2 separate regions of the Homo sapiens genome follow, and region 1 is linked to region 2. The links are contacts of gene promoters, found by promoter capture Hi-C in blood cells and fetal thymus (Javierre and others, 2016). All regions are on one chromosome and are shown on one strand. The core of a region is centred on a gene start or on the middle of the fragment in contact, and the rest is flanking DNA. Distances in the headings are between cores, read along the strand shown. Region 1 holds the start of KRTAP15-1 (keratin associated protein 15-1). Region 2 holds the start of KRTAP20-3 (keratin associated protein 20-3).

Region 1 (3,897 bases), core at 253-2,752, 200 kb after region 2:
TTGTATTTGTGGGAACTTCCTGAAGCAGAGAATTTGTGTCTTTGTTCAGCGTAATGCTTGGTATATAATAGGACCTCAATAAATTTTTTTTCAATGAAAGACTAAAACAAAATTTTCTGAAGCAAATATATAAAAAATGCACTTATGAGGGGATTTAAATCTCTTAAAACATGTGATAGGTTATATATTTAAATTTTCTTTGCACTTTGTTTTCTATTCAACAAAATATCAATAAAACATATGAAACAAACAAAAAGTGTACCTAAGGAAGACAGTTGAAGATATGGGATGAATTCACTAAATGTATCATTTTTACTTATTTATTTATTTATTTTTTGACACAGAGTCCCACTTTGTTGCCCAGGCTGGAGTGTAGTGGCATGATCTCAGCTGACTACAACCTCCGTCTCTCAGATTCAAGTGATTCGCCTGCCTCAGCCTCCTGAGTAGCTGGGATTATAGGTGCACACCAGGCCTTGCTAATTTTTGTATTTTTAGTAGAAATGGGTTTTCACTGTGTTGGCCAGGATGGCCTCAAACTCTTGACCTAAAGTGATCCGCCAGCCTCAGTCTCCCAAAGTGCTGGGATTACAGGTGTGAGCCATCATGCCCAGCCTAAGTGTATTGTATTAACAAAATAAAATGGAATGCCAGAATTCATGCCAAAGAAATAAGCTTATTTAAAATATTGTAACTATTTGAAATATATTTGAGTGGAAGAGTTCTGGGAAAATAATGAGAGAAGGATTTTAGAAAGATGATAACAGAAATGATCCTGAGCATTGGCACAAAAATTGAAATTCAAGATATATCTCCTGTCAGATTTAGGAAGGGTCCTAGGTCAAGATTAATTTGTCCGTGTTCAATCATATACTTCCAAGAGGGCTAGGATGCTGAGTCCTACTGATGTAGATGGTCAACAATCACAGATATTGGACAGGCTGAGTGTTGCAGTTCCATAGAGTACAGAAATAATCATGAGAGAATGGAGAATATTCAGTAAGATGATCCAAAAAGGCGAGACCCAAAGGCTGGTTAGTAACAAGTTGCCTGGAAATTCCTGGATGAAAAGGTAGTTGGGTGGTAGAAGCTGGACCCACAGTCCAGAGATTGGAAGCCAGTGCTTCCACAACCAAGAGATCCAAGGCCAGTGTTTCCACATCCAAGGGATCTTATGTAGTTAGTCTGGCGGGGACTGCAGAAGATGGAATTCTTTGGGCAGTAACAGGATGTCTGATAGGATCTGGCCAAAGTGCAGGATGTCTGGCAGCTGGTGGGCTCACAGTAGGTCTCCTGACAGCCATTGTAGAGAGAGGAGCCCAGTTGGCAGGTATTTGGAGAATAGATGGCATTGCTGGGGTAGAACAAATTATAAGTGGAAACTGGATACCTCAGGTAACTTCCAAAACAGCAGGAGGAGAAGTTTCCAGAGCTGCAGTTGTAAGACATGTTAACAGGAGTTCTGAGCTCAGGTGATTTGCAGTGAGGAGCGTGTGTGTGTGAATGTTACCTTCTATACTGGACACTGACATACTCTAGCAATAGGTGTAGTCACAAGTGCCCATTCTAATGAGAACACTTAATTAGGCTGCAGTCAAAATGAAATATATTAACACTCAAAGAATTTTATTTATGAACGTAGACTTCTACATGAAAGAATTTCATTAGTTTTTCAAAGCAATTGTTCATGAAACAAAAATGCCATTTCTCATTCATCTTGCTTAGGTAGAATGAAAACCACCATAATTGTACCTATAAGACTGATGCTTCAAAGGGTCGGGCGCGGAGGCTCACACTTGTAATTCCAGCACTTTGGGAGGCTGAGGCAGGCATATCACGAGGTCAGGAGTTCCAGACCAGCCTGACCAACATGGTGAAACTCCGTCTCTACTAAAAATACAAAAATTAGCCGGGCATGGTGGTGGGCGGCTGTAATCCCAGCTACTCAGGAGGCTGAGGCAGGAGAATTGCTTGAACCCGGGAGGCGGAGTTTGCAGTGAGCCGAGATCGTACCACTGCACTCCAGCCTGGGAGACAGAGCAAGATTCCATCTCCAAAACAAACAAACAAACAAAGAAACAAAAAAACAAAGAAAAAAACTTGATGCTTCATTCATCCTGTCCTTCTAGAAATTGGATCAAACGGCTAAGACACTGAGAGTTCTGGTATTTGTAAAGATCTGAAAAATACCTTGTAATCTGGAAGGGACTTTGATCTTGCTCCAATTTTATAAATTCAATTGAGAACAGAAAAAAAATTTCAATATCTATTCCTTCTTTCAATTCTTTGAACCATTAGAAGAAATAACCCAATAACAATCCTTATTTGGTAGACATGCTAAATGAGTGCCTAACATATTTAAGTTTAGATTTCTTATAACACAAGTAGCTAAGTCACTCTTGTGCACATGAAGAGTTAAGAATGAAGGGTGAAATTTTTGAACAAGTGCTTTGAAGTTTACATTGTAAAACTACTAAAGAAATCCCTTACTCAAAGGTTGATTTGCTTCTTCATAGAAGTCATCAATAAGTTTGATTATAAAAAACCGTTTATCCCCATAAGGTATAAGTAATTTTTGGTCATGTTGATGTTACTGAGAGGAAAATAATAAGCACTATAAGTAAAATGTAAATCGTTAATCTTTTCCTTTCTTTTCTCTCAGAGGGTGACATTTTTACCAGAGAGGGAAAAGAAAAGCAAGAAATGAGGGAAATGTCTATCCCATGTAGTATTCACAGAAAGATAAAATATGTAAAGAATTCATAGTAACAAATGACTTTATAAATTGAAATAAAGGGGTGGGAAGGATACATGATGATAATGTGTAATTGAGAGTGAATGCCTTTGTGACCTCTGATGTATCAGCTGACATATATATTCTGCCTAGAGTACTAGAGTAATGAGGATTTTTCTGGATTCGCTCAGAAAGTTCATCAGAGCAAACTGTAAATAGATATATGGCACGGATGCAGGAAATGCCTTAACCTGTGGGAATGGGCAAACCTCTTAAGACATCCATCTTCAGAACTGATGTATTCTACAATGGAAGTGAACTGAGACTCCCTTCTATGAAGAATCAGGATTACTAGGTAAAAGTTTTAGGGGAAGATTCAGCTAAAAATCTAAAATGAGTTGCTCTTGCAATTAATGATATTTCCATACTGAGGGCCCTGGGAAAATCTAATTAGGATGTTGTAAGTGGAATTCCAATCTGACAGGAGGCTGGAGATAATTGCTCAACTTCCTTCCAAATTGTAGACTTTATAAGTCTAAACTTTTGAGGAGACAAATTGATCTCCAATCATGTTTCATTTATTAAGTAACATAGTTTGTTCTGTGTTTCTGGAATAAACAATTCTTATTTATTAGGCTTCTCAATTATTAATAGCCAAAAAGCATTCTAGTAGATTCCAAATCTTCCTGTTGTGTTTGTCAATAAAATATTGAATATCAAAATAGCCACACAAATATTTAGCCCGCCTAAATTGAAGTTGCTTTCTTGTTTTAATGTCATCCATTCCTATATAAGCAATTTCAGTAGAAGAATACTCTGAGGGATCAGATATTAAGTAATGTCGCACATTCTTTTCTCAAAGTATGGATTTTTTTGCATTCAACTACTTTCATTCAGAAGTGGAATGGAAACTTTTTTCTAAAAATGAGCAAATCAAACAACACAGAAACCACAGCAAGATAAATCTCAATCTCTCCTCTTCCTCAAGATATCAGTCTCATTACACCATTACATCAAGGTGAAATACAAGTCACAGAACAAGAGAAAATATGACCATTATTTTAGAAGTGTTGTAATACCTGTCAGAAACACCTGAAAATAATTTACGTCAAAGTCATGTATGTTATTTTTGAGGCAAAGGAAGAATCTTCCTAAGATGCTGC
Region 2 (3,910 bases), core at 1,231-3,730:
TCTTGAATTGCAGTTCCCATAATCCTCAGGTGGCATGGGAGGGACCCAGAGAGAGGTAATTGAATCATGGGGTGGTTACCCTCATGCTGCTGTTCTCCTGAGAGCGAGTACTTTCTCACGACTTCTGATGGTTTTATAAGGGGATTTTCCCCCTTGTGCTCATTCTTCTCCTTCTTGCTGCCTTGTGAAGAAGGACGTGACTTCTTCCGCTTCTGCCATGATTGTAAGTTTCCTGAGGCCTCCCCAGGTATGTAGAACTGTCAGTTAATTAAACCTGTTTCCTTTATAAATTACCCAGTCTTGGATATTTCTTCAGATCAGAGTGAGAACGGACTAATACACTGTATTTCTGAAGTTACGACGAACTTTATCCAATTATTTTCTATATTTAAAACTCAGTTTTCTCCTGAGTTGTAGATTTTTGTAACAACCTGCCAGGAAAAATCTTTATTTGGCCCTCCCACAGATGACATTTACGTGTACTCAAGTAAACTTTTGCGGCTCCACTTTGATTGTCCCCCAAATGTTCCGATTCCCGTATCACATGTGCCATTAGTTCCACAGTCAGTCGTTGACTGTTCAAGTCCTTGTTTATTTTGTGCTCTGTTTTATTCCTTAGCCCCCTCCATTCTCATACCACATGGGCATGTTCTTTAACTTCTATCCCATAATAATCTATTTGATCTAGGCCTTCATAGGAATCTTAGTTGCCGCTTTTACATTAAGACCTTGCATTGGCTGCTTACACAGCCTCCAGAATGGTCGTTTGGTCTGTGGTCATACTCCTTGGCCACCTTTCCTTCAATTGGATGCCATAATTATTTGTATAAAACATGCGCTTCTTATTTTTATTTTATTTTTCCATGAGTTATTGGGGTACAGTTGGTATTTGATTACATGAGTAGGTTCTTTAGTGGTGATTTGTGAGATTTTGGTGCACCTGTCACCCAAGCAGTATACACTGCACCATATTTGTAGTCTTTTATCCCTCACCTCCTTCTCACCCTTCCCCCCACATTCCCAAAGTCCATTGTATCATTCTTATACTTTTGCATCCTCATAGTTTAGCTCCCACATATCAGTGAGAACATACGATGTTTGGTTTTCCATTCCTGAGTTACTTCACTTAGAATAATAGTTTCCAATCTCATCCAGGTAAAGGAAAATATTACAACTTTATAAAACATTATCCAGTACACCCATTGCAAAATATATATGGCCTTGATGTTCTAGTTTCTCTTCACTGCCCAGGGCTTCATTTCCTGCCAGTGACTTTGCCCACTGTTCTCTCAAGAAATAACATCAATTTATGACTTTGCAGTGCAATACTTTTTTCATGGCTTTGCATATTTGTTTCCCCTGCCTGGCATACACTTTACCTCCAATGTATTTTTCGTTGGTTAAAAATTTATTCAAATGTAACCTTCAATGAGAATATTTTTGATCTGTTTGCTCTACAATCTCGCTCTTTTGCATCCAAACATGAGCTTCTCCTCTGTGTTCCTACGTGGCTATTACATCACCTATCATGTTGTAGCATACATGTTTATTTAAACATTTGTTTTTCTGCTTAAAAACTCTTCTCCCATAAGTAACACTAAGACTTAACAGGAAGCCCTATATAGAAATTACTTAATGAGGACTTATTAAACAAGTGAGTAATTAATAAATTTAAAAAATGAATGACATTGGCCTGGCCAAAGTAAGTTTAATTAAAAATAAACCTAGAGCTCCCTACTCCTGAAACATATCAAAAAGTAATTTGCTTGGTAAATTATGAAAACACATCAGTTTGGAAGAGAAAAATGTAGTTAATCTGGGGCACTGATGTGGATTTAGTGTGAATTTAATGATGTGTGTTCTTTGCCTAGAATTAGATTGAATAACTAAGCATTATTTTTGTTTTTTTGAGATGGAATCTCATTTTGTTGCTCAGGCTGGAGTGCAGTGGTGCCATCTCGGCTGACTGCAACCTCTGCCTTTGGGTTCAAGTGATCCTCCTGCCTCAGCCTCCCCAGTAGCTGGGGCTACAGGCACCCACCACCACACCTGGCTATTTTTTTAACTTTTAGTAGAGATGGGATTTTGCCATGTTGGCCAGGCTGGTCTCGAACTCCTAACCCCAGGTGATCCACCCGCCTCGGCCTCCTAAAGTGCTGGGATTATAGGGAATCATTAAGAATTCTAATTGGGTTAAACAAATTAAAAAAAGTGTAGTAGAACAGCACCCCTGTCTCATAAGAAAATGGACCCAATTGTAGATATTATTCAGTCAGTGCCTGATAATAAGCATGTAGCATAATCATATTGGTGGCAGCAGTCAAATCCATACCCCACCACAGCCACATCTGTAGCCACAGTCCAGGATTCTAAAGGCACCAAAGCCAGAGGTATAACTATATTTACAGTCATAGCCATAGCCCAGTCCTCCGTAGTAGTTGCCATAGTAGCTCATTGTGTCAGGATTTAAGTCTCTAGCCTGAGAGGCCAGCATAAGTTTTAGTGCATAAAAACACTAAAATACTGGGTCTTTTATCAGTCTCAGTGGAGGTGTGACAAACCACAGGCACTCCTGACATTGTCATATAGACCAACCTGTATTTAAAAATCTCATTAATCTTGTATCTTTAGATTTTAAAAAAAGACTCCCTATCCTGATAAAATTGAGATTTTCTTCTCAGTATGTTATGATCCTGCCAAACAGCTGATAGACTTTAAAGGAAAAAAAAATACTGAGTTCCATGACCTTACTCACACTGATGCCGAATTTAACCTTTGTAGCTATGTTGGATGACATCACGTGGAGGAGGCAAATGCCATCCTCTTCCGATCACTTTGCTAATAATACCCTTCTTCTTATATGCATATTTAAATCTTAATCAACACAGCTGTGATGTTATCGCTATAAAACTTAGTAGCAAATACAGTGGACTCTTGAATACCATGAGTTTGAACTGCACAGATACGCTTATATTAAGCAGATTTTCTTCACCTCTGCCACTCCGGCAGCAAGACCAACCCCTCCTCCTCCTTCTCCTCCTCAACCTACTCAACATGAAGACAATAAGGCTGAAGACCTTTATGATGATCCACTTCCACTTAGTGAATAGTAAATCCATTTTCTCTTTTTCTTTATTTTCTTAATAAAATTTTCTTTTCTTTAGCCTACTTTATTATAGGAGTATAATCTCTCATTACAGGTAACATAAGCATGTATTAATCAACTGTTTATGTTATTGGTAAGGCTTCTGGTCAACAGTAGGCTATTAGTAGTTAAGTTTTTGGGGAGTCAAAAGTTATACTCAGATTTTCAACTGCGTGGAGGTTGGCACTCCTAATCCCTGCATTGTTCAAGGATCAACTGTGATTTATTCTGTACAAACTCCCACCAATCACATATTATTCTGTAGTTTTCCTATTGCTATGCTCTCTTAAAAGTAGTGCCCTTTTCTTGCCTGTTTAGTTCCTTCTTCTCCACACCTTAAGCATTCTTTAAAAAGTTGTTTGGTTGATTATCTTGTACCTGCACTGCAATGTAGATATGTTTCTTCGGAGAAAAGAAAAGCATTGAGAATCTTATCTGATTCCAAAGTCACAGGAACGTAAAGTAGACATTTTTGAGACCCAAATATAACAGAAGGCATGACTATTAATTTTTCTGTAGGGATATTGACTCTGTCTGTATCATGTACTTATATGTAGACTTAAGTTCTCAAAGGCAGGCTGAATCTAGATACTATCATTTCTTAAGATGATTAAAAATAATTGAAAATTTTCCTTCACCACTGACCTTTAGGGTAATCCCCGATTTGATCTGTTGTACTTCAGTCATCCACTTTTAGGCAGTGCTACCATATTGGCAGAACCATCTATAATCCAGGACTAATTTTTCCTTCTCCAACTGGAAAAT

What was found. The method cuts DNA at HindIII sites, captures the fragments that hold promoters and counts their contacts. A CHiCAGO score of 5 or more calls a contact.
Region 1: the fragment with the promoter of KRTAP15-1 here is called in contact with the fragment with the promoter of KRTAP20-3 in region 2 in 2 of 17 cell types (monocytes and neutrophils); the score reaches 5.4 in monocytes.

What each region holds. Positions count from the first base shown.
Region 1 is chr21:30,437,880-30,441,776 of GRCh38, reverse strand. It overlaps KRTAP15-1 (keratin associated protein 15-1), which reads right to left and starts at 1,502. Exons shown (of 1, transcript NM_181623.3): 1 at 908-1,502. The coding sequence starts at 1,449. The coding sequence ends at 1,036. All of the region lies in intron 3 of LOC105372772 (a long non-coding RNA gene), which reads left to right. The HindIII fragment of the contact is 9,658 bases long and covers 678-3,897 here.
Region 2 is chr21:30,641,434-30,645,343 of GRCh38, reverse strand. It overlaps KRTAP20-3 (keratin associated protein 20-3), which reads right to left and starts at 2,480. Exons shown (of 1, transcript NM_001128077.1): 1 at 2,208-2,480. The coding sequence starts at 2,455. The coding sequence ends at 2,321. The HindIII fragment of the contact is 10,269 bases long and covers 1-3,910 here.